Regions from separate parts of the Homo sapiens genome. Here regions 1 and 3 are each linked to region 2. The links are contacts of gene promoters, found by promoter capture Hi-C in human tissues and cell types (Jung and others, 2019). All regions are on one chromosome and are shown on one strand. The core of a region is centred on a gene start or on the middle of the fragment in contact, and the rest is flanking DNA. Distances in the headings are between cores, read along the strand shown.

What was found. The method cuts DNA at HindIII sites, captures the fragments that hold promoters and counts their contacts. A contact is called where the count stands out against the background at its distance.
Region 1: a contact is called between a fragment that was not itself captured here and the fragment with the promoter of ZNF346 in region 2, in 1 of the 25 tissues and cell types used here (dorsolateral prefrontal cortex).
Region 3: a fragment that was not itself captured here is called in contact with the fragment with the promoter of ZNF346 in region 2 in 1 of the 25 tissues and cell types used here (IMR-90 fibroblasts).

What each region holds. Positions count from the first base shown.
Region 1 is chr5:176,695,122-176,699,614 of GRCh38, forward strand. No RefSeq gene overlaps it. Among named protein-coding and RNA genes, the nearest start is that of LINC01574, 46 kb to the right of the region's middle. RefSeq lists an enhancer at 2,187-3,010. The HindIII fragment of the contact is 6,715 bases long and covers 1-4,493 here.
Region 2 is chr5:177,021,351-177,025,462 of GRCh38, forward strand. ZNF346 (zinc finger protein 346) reads left to right here and starts at 1,346. Exons shown (of 7, transcript NM_012279.4): 1 at 1,346-1,563. The coding sequence starts at 1,389. It also overlaps a transcript of UIMC1 not described here. RefSeq lists enhancers at 1,050-1,587, 1,111-1,160, 1,588-2,124 and a silencer at 1,561-1,710. The HindIII fragment of the contact is 9,260 bases long and covers 1-4,112 here.
Region 3 is chr5:177,277,546-177,281,882 of GRCh38, forward strand. It overlaps NSD1 (nuclear receptor binding SET domain protein 1), which reads left to right. Exons shown (of 23, transcript NM_022455.5): 18 at 3,020-3,289. Among named protein-coding and RNA genes, the nearest start is that of RAB24, 24 kb to the right of the region's middle. The HindIII fragment of the contact is 7,633 bases long and covers 1-4,337 here.

The sequences.
Region 1 (4,493 bases), core at 1,383-3,882, 320 kb before region 2:
TTGCAGGAGACCTCCTCCACTTTACCAGCCACGGTGGTTGCTTAGTTCCAGCTGCCAAGAGGAGAAAGGGACTGAGAAGGACATGTTCTCCCTTTGAGGACACTTCCCAGAACTGCACGCTACACTCATGCTTACAGCGTTATGGTCTGAATTTAGTCATGTGGCAGGGAGGCTGGAGAGAGTGCCGATTCTGGCAGCCATGAGCCAGAAGGGAGGGGAGGGCAGAGGGAGGGGAAAATAGACACTGGCAGTGAGGAATAACTGGCAGTCTATGCCCCAGACCCCTAAGTGTGCTCACAGCCATGATCACACCTGCTGCCCTGGGAGAAGGGAATTATATTCCCCCGTTTTACGGATGAGGAGGCTGAGGCAGACAGAGACAGAAAGCTTAGTCTCGCATGCTCTCTGTTCCCGTTCTTGCCTTCCTCTGCTAGCCCTCTTCTTGCTCCTGCCCTGGACCCAGAACATAGTTCTCAGTGGCCCTTGAGTTATCCTTTTGTTTTTTGAGACAAGGTCTTGCTGCGTTGCCCAGGCTAGAGTGCAGTGGCACGATCTTGGTTCACTGCAGCCTCAACCCCCTGGGCTCAAGCAATCCTCCTGACTTAGCCTCCCAAGTAGGTGGGACCACAGGTGTATGTCATCATGCCTGACTAATTTTCATATGTTTTGTAGAGATAGGGACTCCCTATCTCTACAAAAGAGAGATTGCCGGCTGGTCTTGAACTCCTGGGCTCAAGCAATCCTCCCACCTTGGCCTCCCTAAATGCTGGGATTACAGGCGTGTGCCACCATGCCCTGAGCATTAGAGTTATACAGTAAAGCTCAGTACTGAAGCAGGATGGGGCCAGCCCGGCAGGTAACCCGGGGCCCTCCTGAGAGAGCAAGAGCAAGCTCTCCCCTAGTCCCCCAGCAGGGGTCTGCGGGGTCTCTGGGTCTGTGGTGTCTGTTCCCCAGCAGAGGCAGGCAGCAAGGCCCCAAACCTGGTTTCCATACAAGGCTTACAACTCTTCCCCTAACTGTGCCCATTTGTGATTGATGCCAGTTTAGGATTCACCAAGGCTCTGTTCCTCGGTGCTCCTGAAAAATGTGGAAACCTTTCTATTTGTACAACCCATCTGTAAACTAGGGCTAAGCCACGTCCTTCAGCTCTCTCAAGGGTTTCTTGATGGATATTGAGTGAAAAATAATGTAGTTAATGTGTTCTGAGGAACTCAGGGAAAGCTGCTGCGAGCCCATGGTGCCACTAAATGATCATTGCCCTGGGCCCTGGGAGGGGCCATTCTGGGGGCTGGACTGGGGAAGGCAGGGTCGGGGTGGCAGTGGTGCTTCGATCTGGAATGACACTTGCTCACTTGTGGAGCAGGCAAAAGCTGGGAGGCCCCTAGTGATGCCCAGTCATGGGGAGCAAGGATGTTCCCTGGGCAGGTGGTGGGCGGGGACATGTGGCATTGTGGGGGACTCCAGAGGGAACAAGGAAGCAGGCATTAGCCTGAGGTTTGGAGGTCACCCCCAACCTGGAGGGGCCTGGGGAATGGCACTCACAGGCCAGGGACTGGTCCTCAGCAGAGAAAGGGCAGGTTTTCAAATGGAAGGTTCACCTGCAGAGAACACGGAGTTGCTCCAAGCACCAACGTCTCCCATTTAGATGACGGGGGGGAGCCCCAGGTGCCTCTGTAATCCACTCCTGCCCCTGCTCCACCCAGTCTCCACGCAGCAGGCTGAGCGATGCTCTGTGGTGCTGAGCAAACCTCCTCCTCCCCTCTCAACCCTGCCCAAGATTTCCCGTGCTCCTGAACCCACAGACTCTTTTTCATGCTCTGCAGGGGCCCACCAGGTCCAGCCTCAGCGTTTCTTTCTACCTCACTTCTTCCACCTTCTCCTGGCACACCTCCTTCCTACCACAATGCCTTCTATGTGTTCCTAAACCGACCATGCTCACTCCCACCACACAGCCTTTGCATTTGCCGTTCTCTCTGCCTGGAATCTTCTTCCCGCAGCTCTCTGCATGGCTGACCCTCCCTTGGAGAGATCCGCTCTTCCCTATCTGCCCTCTCTTCCTCTAAAACAAACTCTTCCCCATCACTGCCATCATCCGGTTGCATTTTCATCATTGTGTTTAAGACCATGTAAGAGGATATGATTTGATTCCTTGTCCATTGCCTATCCTCCCACATGGGCCCAGCCCAGGGCACAGCCTGCACACCTGTGTCCTTTTCTCGCTGCAGCACCTGGAACACAGCAGGTGCTCAGTCATGCATTGGAAGGAGGCAGCCTTAGTTTGCATCCCCCTGGAAGCGAACCCTGAGACAAGGTTTCCCATACAAGTAGTTAATTTGGGAGGTGGTAGGGGAATGGGAAAGGGAAAGGAGCAGCCAGGAGAGGGAGCGCTCTCAGTGAGTTCCAACTGTGGGCAACCACAGCTCCATCCTGCAGGGCTGGGCTCAGTGTGGACAGCGTGCCTGAGAGTACCCCACACAAGGGGAGGGTTATGGGCACCTAGACACCAGCTCCTATCAGTTACTGGCTGATGGCCTCTCTCGGGGGGCCCTATTTTCCAGCACTCTGGCCCGTGGCAACATGGGCAGAGTGGCATCCAGATGGCAGAGAAAGGTCTCGGGCAAAGAAATGTGGTCGCAGGCGCTGGTGGCTGGAGGTTGGGCTGGCATACACTGCAGTGGGCACCTACATTGCCTGCTATGGGGGAAGGCACCAAAATGGGCAGAAGATGGGGCCTGGGCATCAGGCACAACCCAAACACAGTTACCCACACTTGGGTCCAAGATCAGGGCCTGACTCAGTGGGTGATGATGCGCAGCCTTTGCTTGCCCTGGGCTGAGATGCCTTAGGCGCAGGTAACCAATACAACTCAACCAATACAGCTCAGGAGAGGATGAGAGAGGCCCAGCACAGCAGCCTTGGGAGGGAAGCTGTGGGTTGGACAAGGCAGGGCCTGACAGAGGCAGTCTTGAAAGGAGTGGCTTAGCTTTTGATCTGCAAAGAGACCTGAGCCCTGGCAGATGGTTTTCTGGCCTCCTCAGGTTTCCAGCTCTCCCAGCTGCCTCCGGAGGCAAGTCTGGGGCAGGAGGAGTTTGGAGAAGCTGGCTGGGGGGAGACCTCTGCTCCTCGGCTGCAGGTTTGCATTCTCTTTGGCAGCTAATTACTTAGGATGAATGATTCTGACTCAGATGGAAGCCCCCTCCTCCAGCACCCCTCCCTCCAGCTGGGACAGAACAGGTGGTGGAGGGAGCAGAGGGCTCCGGCGTCACCGGCACTGCTGCTTGCCGGGCCATTTATCACTGGGGGTGTTTATACCCCACCTGGGGCCAGAGCCCGAGCAGAACAGGTGGTGCGTTGAGGAAGGGAGTGAGGAGGTGATGGGAATGAACTCTTCTGGCACCAGCTCCAAGGGGCCCTGGGGCTTGCCGGAGGTGGCTGAAAAGATAGGAACTAAAGCATCAGAGGAAACAGAACAGGACCTACTGCAGGAGGTGTTTCAACTTTCCCTGCATTTGGAAGATTTTGCAGGTGAAGGAGATTAACTCAGATTAAGAAGATTGGCTTTTGGTGTTTTGCTTGGGGTGGGGCTGGGTAGAAAACAGCCTGGACTGGGAGCCTTTGCTGATGGCTGTGGTGTAAATACTCTCACCCTGGCTGACTCAAGCTACTAATTGTTGAACAACTAAAGCCATGAATCTTGAATATTTAACAGTTGGCTCCTAGAAGCTGGCAGGAGCCGGCCCAGGCCTGTGTGAAGCTGTTCAGGCAGAGCATCTAACATATTTATTCACTGGTTCGGTAAGACATCACAGGGCACCCTCTGCGTCTGGAGCCATGTTTTAGGGACACCAAGCAGACCCCATCCCAAGCCCACAGATGCGGGACGAGGTCATCTCAGGGTGCGATGGGGCTACTGTGGCAGCAGCTTTACAGGACGATGTGTGGGGGACGCGGCCTTGTGGCCTCTGTGCATCTGGACAGTGAGTTTATGGAGGAGATCTAAACCCGCCTCTGTCCTTATCAGGCAGTGCGGCCACCCTGTGCGCCCACAGTGAACACAGAAGAGTGAACACTTGGGTATTTTCTGGCTCGGCCGTTCTACTGGGTGTCACACATTCCTCCTTTATTCCTTCCCTGCTGTCTCCCGCTGCCTCAGCACTCGGCCTGGGTACCTTCCATGGGCATTGCCAAGACCCAAGGCCTCCCTGGAGACCAGTTCTGTCTGATTTCTGGAGGCCATGTGACAGTGGAGCATGGCTCAGTGGGAACAGGCAGCCCACGGGCCACATTTTCCCCACAGGCAAACCCTTCCCTCCTTCACTGTGTACCTGGGCAGTCCCGGATCCCAGGAACCGCCAGTGGCGGGGAGGGCTTCATGCCCAGGGTGGAATCTTACCTGGCCCTCTTCCTGCCTGGGGATCAGAGCTCAAACTCCTACGCTCTCTAAACCCTGGGGTTTAATTAAGAAAATATGGAGGTCCTCTGGGAGCCATAGA
Region 2 (4,112 bases), core at 96-2,595:
GGAGACAGACAATAAGCAAGATAAAAGGTAAAATATAAAAGAAATAAAGCAGGAAAGAAGGACATGAAGTGTGTGTGGAAAAGTAACATTTTAGATGGGATAGCCAGACAAGGTATTTTAGATAGAGTAGCCAGAGAAGGAAGTGGGAGACTGAGCCATGAAGATATATGAGAGAAATTCACCCCAGGAGGCCTGGATAACTGGGACAGGAATTAAGGAGTTGGGGACTGAGTAACACATCAGGATCAGGGAGGTTAAGGGAAGTCAGATTGTACAGGGCCTTGTTGGTCGAAGTAAGGACTTTGGCTTTTTTTTTTTTTAGTCGGAGTTTCGCTCTTGTTGCCCAGGCTGGGGTGCAATGGCGCCAGCTCGGCTCACAGCAACCTCTGCCTCCCGGGTTCAAGCCATTCTCCTGGCTCAGCCTCCGAGTAGATGGGATTACAGGCATGTGCCACCACACCCGTCTAATTTTGTATTTTTAGTAGAGACGGGGTTTCTCCATGTTGGTCAGGCTGGTCTCGAACTCCGGACCTCAGGTGATCCGCCCCCCCTTAGCCTCCCAAAGTGCTGGGATTACAGGCGTGAGCCACCGCGCCTGGCCGGACTTTGGCTTTTACTAAGAGTGAGATGGGAAGCTGTTGGAGGATTTGAGAACCTAAGCGTCATGATCTGACTTGTCATAAGAGGATTCCTGGAACTGCTGTGCTGGGAATGCCAGTGAGGTTGCTACTACAATAACCTAGGCAAGAGATGGTGGCTCCCAAAGACACGGGAAGGAGCAGCTCTGGGGTTGGAAGATAAAATTTGGGGTCTGACAGCTACATTGGAGAAGCCTATTAGCCATTCGAGTGAACTGTGGAAGAGGCAACTGGATGTATACAGGTCCGGAGTCTCGGGGAAGATCAGAGCTGGGAGCTGGCACTTGGAACTCAACAAATAGTATGTATTATTAGCAGTAATATGGAACCTTAGCTGTACTACTACTTACTAGTAGCGAGCTCTTGAGTTAACCATTTTTAGGTTCTGGGCCTCAGTTTCCCTGTGAATGAAATGGCGAAAACACTCCCACATAACGGGACCTTGAGAACGAAATGAAAAGTATCAAGGGCTGACCGTGAGCAAGGTGAGAGCCATGAGCCAAAACCACACGAGCCTCTCCGGGAGGGGGGGGTCACTGCTGCGGAATCAGCGACAGGTTTCCGAATCCACGGCACACGCTCTGAGGTACCAGAGGTAGCAAAGCAAAATAAGCGCGGGGTCCCGCACGGCAGCGCGGGTGCAGCGCCCAAACCTCGCGAGATTTGTTGGCTGGGCCAAGTACCACCCACCAAATCTCGCGATACCTAGGCGCCTGAGAGGCTCTCTACCGGTGAGGGTTTGCGGGGAAGATGGAGTATCCCGCGCCGGCCACGGTGCAGGCCGCGGACGGCGGAGCGGCCGGGCCTTACAGCAGCTCGGAGTTGCTGGAGGGCCAGGAGCCGGACGGGGTGCGCTTTGACCGCGAGAGGGCGCGCCGCCTGTGGGAAGCCGTGTCCGGTGCCCAGCCGGTGGGTAGAGAGGAAGGTGAGTCGGGGGCTTTGGAGGCAGAAAGCCCCTCGCCCGCTGCGCGGCTCGCGGGGAACTGCGGAAGCGCCGACGGTCACACCCCCTGGCCCGCCTCCTTGCGTGCTGCGCCCCGGGACCCCCAGACTTGTGCTCCCCATCCGGGCGCGGGCACCCCAAGAATCGGGCCCCCAGCGCGCTGAGGGTGAAGGGCCGCTCACGCTCAGGCCCTGGGTTTTCCTCCTCCTCCTTCATCATTCACTACAGCGCAGTTTTTCCCACATTCGAGGACTGTCATCCCTATACTCGTCCTGTCGGAGACCTACAGTCTTTGCCATCCCGGTAAGCCAAGCCGAGTGCCCCTCACCACTCCTTGACTCCCCATCGTCCCAATCTCCAGATTTCCTCCTAGGGCCTCTCGCCTCCCTTCTCTCAAGCCCCACACTTCCGAGGGCTCTGGAAGGCCTTCTCCTTACCCCCTGGGTTCCTCCTGGTCTTGATGACTGAGCCCTGGCTTACCCGTTTTTAGCTCTCTGGCCTCTACTTGCTGGGTCCCTTATTCTAAGGTGGGGACAAGGAGCCTGAGAAACTGGTCTGGGTTTGCTTTGGCTCCAGCTTCTTTGTGTCCTACACTTGACCCAAAGTTGCTGAGAACAGTGTATGCAAAGCCACGTTAGGGGTCACTCCTGGGCCGAAGCGCCCCAGCTTGCTCTGCACTTGACCTGAGACTGGGTAAGATGGGATGAAAGAAAGAGAAGGATGGAAAAGAGCTGTCCTGACCTGCTTGTGTGACTCCCTTCACTGTCCTTTACAGAGCCAGCTGCTTGATGCTAACCCAGATGTACAAGAACTCTATCTGGGCTTCTCTGCTAACCTTGTCAGGTATCTGGAGGGAAATCAGATTTCTCCAGTGATTTGTTTGCTTGCTGAGCAGACTTGTCTTCGAAAGTTTAATATGCTATTTGTGAACTGACTGCCCTGGATAAAATTGGATAAAATTGAAATTTTGACCATATCTAAGGAAGGTACACAGACCTATACCCTGGTATATACTTCTCCAATTTAAAAACAAGTCTAGCCTGTCTCCTAAGTTTATATATATATATAATGTATATTATATATAAAAAAGAAGGAGACAGGGCCCCAGAAATGGTGTGTGTGTATGCGTATATATAATATACACACACATAAATGTATATATATAATATATACACACATAAATCTGTATATATATTTTTATATACACTTGTAAGTATTTTATGTATACACACACACACACACACACACTATTTCTGGGGCCCTCTCTCCTTTTTTTTTTTTTTTTTTTTGAGAGAGTCTCACTCTGTCACCCAGGTTGGAGTGCAGTGGCACAATCACACTGCAACCTCCGCCTCCTGGGTTCAAGCAATTCTATACTGCCTCAGCCTCCGGAGTAGCTGGGATTACAGGCTGCTGCCATGACGCTCAGCTGATTTTTGTATTTTTAGTAGAGATGGGGTTTCACCATGTTGGCCAGGCTGTTCTCGAACTCCTGACCTCAAGTGATCTGCCCGCCTTGACCTCCCAAAGTGCTGGGATTACAGGCATGAGCCACCGCACCCGGCTCTCCTACTTTCACACTTGTTTGGTAGTTTCCTCCCCTACCCCAATTTTCCTTTCATTAACTTGACAAACACTCACTGATGCCTGCTCTGGACCCGGAACTGGTTGAGCTTCAGAGCTGGAGTATCAGAGGAAGATACTGCCCTTGCCCTGGAAAGGCTTGCAGTCTAGTCCAGGAAGCAGACACCAAAACAGTTCCAGTGTAATGTAAAGGATGCAGTGCTGAGGAATGTTTTAAGAGTTGGAGGTGCACAAGAAGAAAGTGACCTTTGCCCTGGATCTTGAAGCAGAAAACCACTGTGCTCTGAAAAGTGAACTGTCTGCTATGTGTATATGAGTGTATAGTGGCACTGTTATGACCCATTTCATTTCCCTGTTCTCACTTCTCCCACATTTATGTGAAATCTAGGTAGACACCTACAACATTAAGTTCTACTCACCCTTTTTCTACTCTTAGCACCTTCATGTGAGTTACAATTTATATACCATACAAGTCACCCATTGTAAGCATATCGCCAGTGATTGTTAGCCAGTGTACAGAGTTGTATAGCCATTACCACAGTCCACTTTTAGAACATTTCCGTCACCCCAATTAGTTCCTTTGAGCTCATTTATATTAAATCCCCACTCCCACCTCCTGCCCTAGGCAACCAGTGACCTGTTTTCTGTCTTGGGTAGTCTTTTGAGTTTGGCTTCTCTCAGCATGTTTTTGAAGTTCAGCCAAGTCATGGTGTGTATTAGTACTTCATTCCTTTTTATTGCTAAATAGAATTCCATTGAATGAATATAACACATTCTATTAATCCATTCATTAGTTCTAGACATTTGGATTGTTTCCAGTTTGGAGTTTTTGTGAATAGTGCTGCTGCGAACATTCATGCCCAAGTTTTTGTGTGAACATACATTTCATTTCTTGAGTATATCCCTAAGAGTGGAATTGCTGGGTCATATCGTAACTCTGACATTTT
Region 3 (4,337 bases), core at 660-3,159, 260 kb after region 2:
TAACCATGTGGGATTTGTTTTGGTTTGCTTTTGGTTTACGATGTGATAAGTACAAAACTTATTTTTGGATTAATAACAGGTTAGATCAGTTGATAAGAAACAATGATTAAAACATATATTTTCCAGCCTGGGCAACATAGCAAAACCCAGTCTCTACAAAAAATACAAAGAAAAAAAAAAATTTGGGGTGCCTGTTGTCCCAGCTACCTGAATCACCTGAGCCTGGAAAGTCAACGCTGCAGTGAGCTGTGATTGCACTACTGCACTCCAGTCTGGGGGACAGAGTAAGACCCTGTCTCAAAACAAAAACAAATATATATTTGTAGAGAGAAAAGAAGTAGCATGAACCTTTATGTGTATTTGGGAAGGGTTCAAGTAAAAATATTTCGAATCAGAAGTGAATGTTCAAATGCCCTATTCAGGACTTGTAGTCTTGGGTGACTGAGATTAGCTGTTGTTGTCTGTCCCCTTAGAATTTGCCTTAGACATTGTAAGCCTTATGCCTTATGGCTTCCAGTTGCATGTGTTGGGGATATTTCTCCATTAGCAAGAAGTTTCCAAACCTTACCAGTGTTTTGATGAATCTAGGAACAGATCTGGCAGTGAGACCTACATCCATTTTCCCCACGGACAGCATCTTGCTGGAGTGTCTTGCAGGTCTATACGATCCTCCCACTGCAGCTTCCTGAGTAGCTGGAACCTCAAGCACTTGCCACCATGCCCGGCTAAGCTTTATAATTTTTTTGTAGACATAGGGTTTCATTGTGTTGCCTGGTCTGGTCTTGAACTTCTGGGCTCAAACAATCCTCCAGTCTCAGCCTCCGAAAGTGCTGGGATTACAGATGTGAGCCACTGCACCTGGCCTCCTCCTGTTAAATGTTGATAGAAAAATGGTTTGATGGCAGCATATATCCAGATTGTAGATTTCATAATATTAAAGGGGAGTGGGCAAATAATAAAATGCAAGAAATGAAAGCATTTGAAAATTTAGAGGACAGAAATGACTTTTAAGTAAGTGATTTTAGGTGTACTGGAATGAGTAATCTAGAATATTTGATATGAGAGAAACAATCATAAGGGCATTATATAAGAAAGGAAGAAAGAATTTAATATGTCTACCATGTTTAAGAGGCAGCTAGGTGCTGTACTATACATATATTTCTTATTCTTACAATAGTCTTGCAAGTAATTTATTCAAAATCACACAGTTCCTGAACAGTCAAAATTTTTTGTGCGGTTTGTGTCTTAGAAGACTAAATTTGACTGTTCCCACTGAAATAATATGAAATGAGGGGAGATACATTCTCATGCACAAATCCATTATTGTACTGGAACATCTATTGTCTTTCCTTATTGTTGCTAGTATTTGTTAAAACCTCTACATTAATGGCTTTGGTGTCACAATAACTGTTTGACCTTCATGTTTTAACTCACCAAACTTTCACTGTGTTTTTGAGCACTAGCACCACTTCTAAATTAATCCATGAGTGACATTGCTATAGTCCTTTTAAAAGATTTTAAATTATAAGCTGGGTGTGGTGATACCTGCCTGTAGTCCCAACTACTTGTGAGGCTGATGCAGGAAGCATAGAGGAACTCAAATTACACACAGATGATTTCATGCCATTTATTTGCCACTTAAGAACAGTGCTTTTGCCAGGTGTGGTGGCTCACACCTATAATCCCAGCACTTTCAGAGACCGAGGCGGGCAGATCACCTGAGGTCAGGAGATCACAAGGTCAGGAGATCGAGACCAGCCTGGCCAACATAGTGAAACTCCATCTTTCCTAAAAATACAAAAATTAGCCGGGCTTGGTGGTGTGTGCCTATAGTCCCAGCTACCTGGGAGGCTGAGGCAGTAGAATGGCTAGAACCCAGGAGGCAGAGGTTGCAGTCAGCCAAGATCCCGCCACTGCACTGCAGCCTGGGCAACAGAGCTAGACTCCCTCTCAAAAAAAGGAAGGAAGAATAATGCCTATTTTTTTGTAGCAGCAAATGTGACACCAACATGTGGCAATAGCAGAAACCTAGTTTATAGTTCACCTGGCTTATCAGCTTTGAAAATTTTTTTTTTTTTTTTTTTTTTTTTTTTGAGACGGAGTCTCGCCCTGTCACCCAGGCTGGAGTGCAGTCACGCGATCTCTGCAAGCTCCGCTGCCTCCCAGTTTCACACCATTCTCCTGCCTCAGCCTCCTGAGTAGCTGGGACTACAGGTGCCCGCCACCACGCCTGGCTAATTTTTTTGTATTTTGAGTAGAGACGGGGTTTCACCGTGTTAGCCAGGATGGTCTTGATTTCCTGACCTCGTGATCCACCTGCCTCGGCCTCCCAAAGTGCTGGGATTACAGGTGTGAGCCACCAGGCGCGGCTGAAATTATTTTTTAAAATGAATTTCAAAAAAATTTTTAAAGTTCATATTTTATTTTATTTTATTTTATTTTATTTTATTTTATTTTATTTTATTTTATTTTTTGTGACCGAGAGACCGAGTCTCACTCTGTTGCCCAGGCTGGAGTGCAGTGGCACGACCTAGGCTCACTGCAAGCTCAGCCTCCCAAGTAGCTGGGACTACAGGCGCCCACCACCACACCTGTCTAATTTTTTGTATTTTTAGTAGAGACGGGGTTTCACCGTGTTAGCCAGGATGGTCTCAATCTCCTGACCTCGTAATCCACCTGCCTCGGCCTCCCAAAGTGCTGGGATTACAGGCGTGAGCCACCGTACCTGGCTCGTATTTTATTTTTTTGAGATGGAATCTCAACATATCGGCCAGGCTGGAGTGCAGTGGTGAAATCTTGTCTCACTGCAACCTCCGCCTCCTGGGTTCAAGCAATTCTTGTGGAGTTCATATTTTGTATGTCAAGTGAGGCTCTGTTTTTATATGAAACTAAGTGTTGATAGTTCAAAATCATGGGAAATGTGGCTGCAACTTCAAGGAAAAAAAGTTTGCCTTTTTCAGGACGTGAATTGTCTTCTGCTGACTTGTTTTATGCGGTGTACTTTGTGTTACTTTTCCAGGTAAACCGTCCTATTGGCAGGGTACAGATCTTCACTGCAGACTTATCTGAAATACCCCGTTGCAACTGTAAAGCTACTGATGAGAACCCCTGTGGGATAGACTCTGAATGCATCAACCGCATGCTGCTCTATGAGTGCCACCCCACAGTGTGTCCTGCCGGAGGGCGCTGTCAAAACCAGTGCTTTTCCAAGCGCCAATATCCAGAGGTTGAAATTTTCCGCACATTACAGCGGGGTTGGGGTCTACGGACAAAAACAGATATTAAAAAGGTTAGAAAAAGCTAAATTACCATATACTTTCTCCTCTTTGCAGTTGCTTGATATCATTGATCCTTGACATTAGAAAATTCATCATAGAAGAAAATAACACAGTTAATAATTAACCTTATTGTTGTGTCTTGCCATATCCTTCTACCGTTTAGAGGCTTACGAATGGATGGTTTTGATCTCCCAAGTCCTTTGTATTGATCATGGTCACTGTGTAGGAGGTTGGAAAAAATGGGACATTCATAGAGATGCTATGGCTTTGTTTGCTTTTTTGTGAATATCCTACAGCTGGTAATTAAGAGAGATGACAGTGAGCACATGATACAGAGACATTGATCCACCTACTAATAAAACATTTTTAGTGAGGAAAAAACAGGTCTGGCTTCATGAAACATGAAGGATAAGAAGGTTAAGCCTTATTGGATGAAAATGCAGTCATGTCTTCAACTTAAAACTTGGCAGGATCTCTAAGTTTCTAATAAATAAATAATATTGTATAGTCTTTTTTTTTTTTTTAATAAAATAAGCCTTATTCTGGTTACATTTTCTGAAGAATTTTATTGGTTTCCAGGAAATGTAGTGTATATGGGTTGGCGTTTAGTCATTTGCTAAGTAGTTATTTTTATATTTACTGTATGTGCCAGGTATTGTGCTGGGGATGCACTAACCAAGACGAGAGATATGGCCTATACTTTCATAAAATTTACATTTCGGAGGGAGAGAAATATTGAACAAATCATCTCCCAGTGTGAAAGTATAAAGGGCTCTAGAGATGTGTGACAAAGGAACTGAAACTAGTTTGTCTCTGATGATATTATATTTTATTTTATTTATTTTTTGAGAGAGGGTCTCACTCTGTCGCCCAAACTGGAGCGCACTGGTGCCATCTCCGCTCACTGCAACCTTCAACTTCCAGGCTCAAGTGATCCTCCCATCTCAGCCTCCTGAGTAGCAGGGACTACAGGCTCGCATCACCACGCCTGGCTAATTTTTGTATTTTTTGTGGAGGTGAGGTCTAACCATGTTGCCCAGGCTGGACTTAAACTCCTGG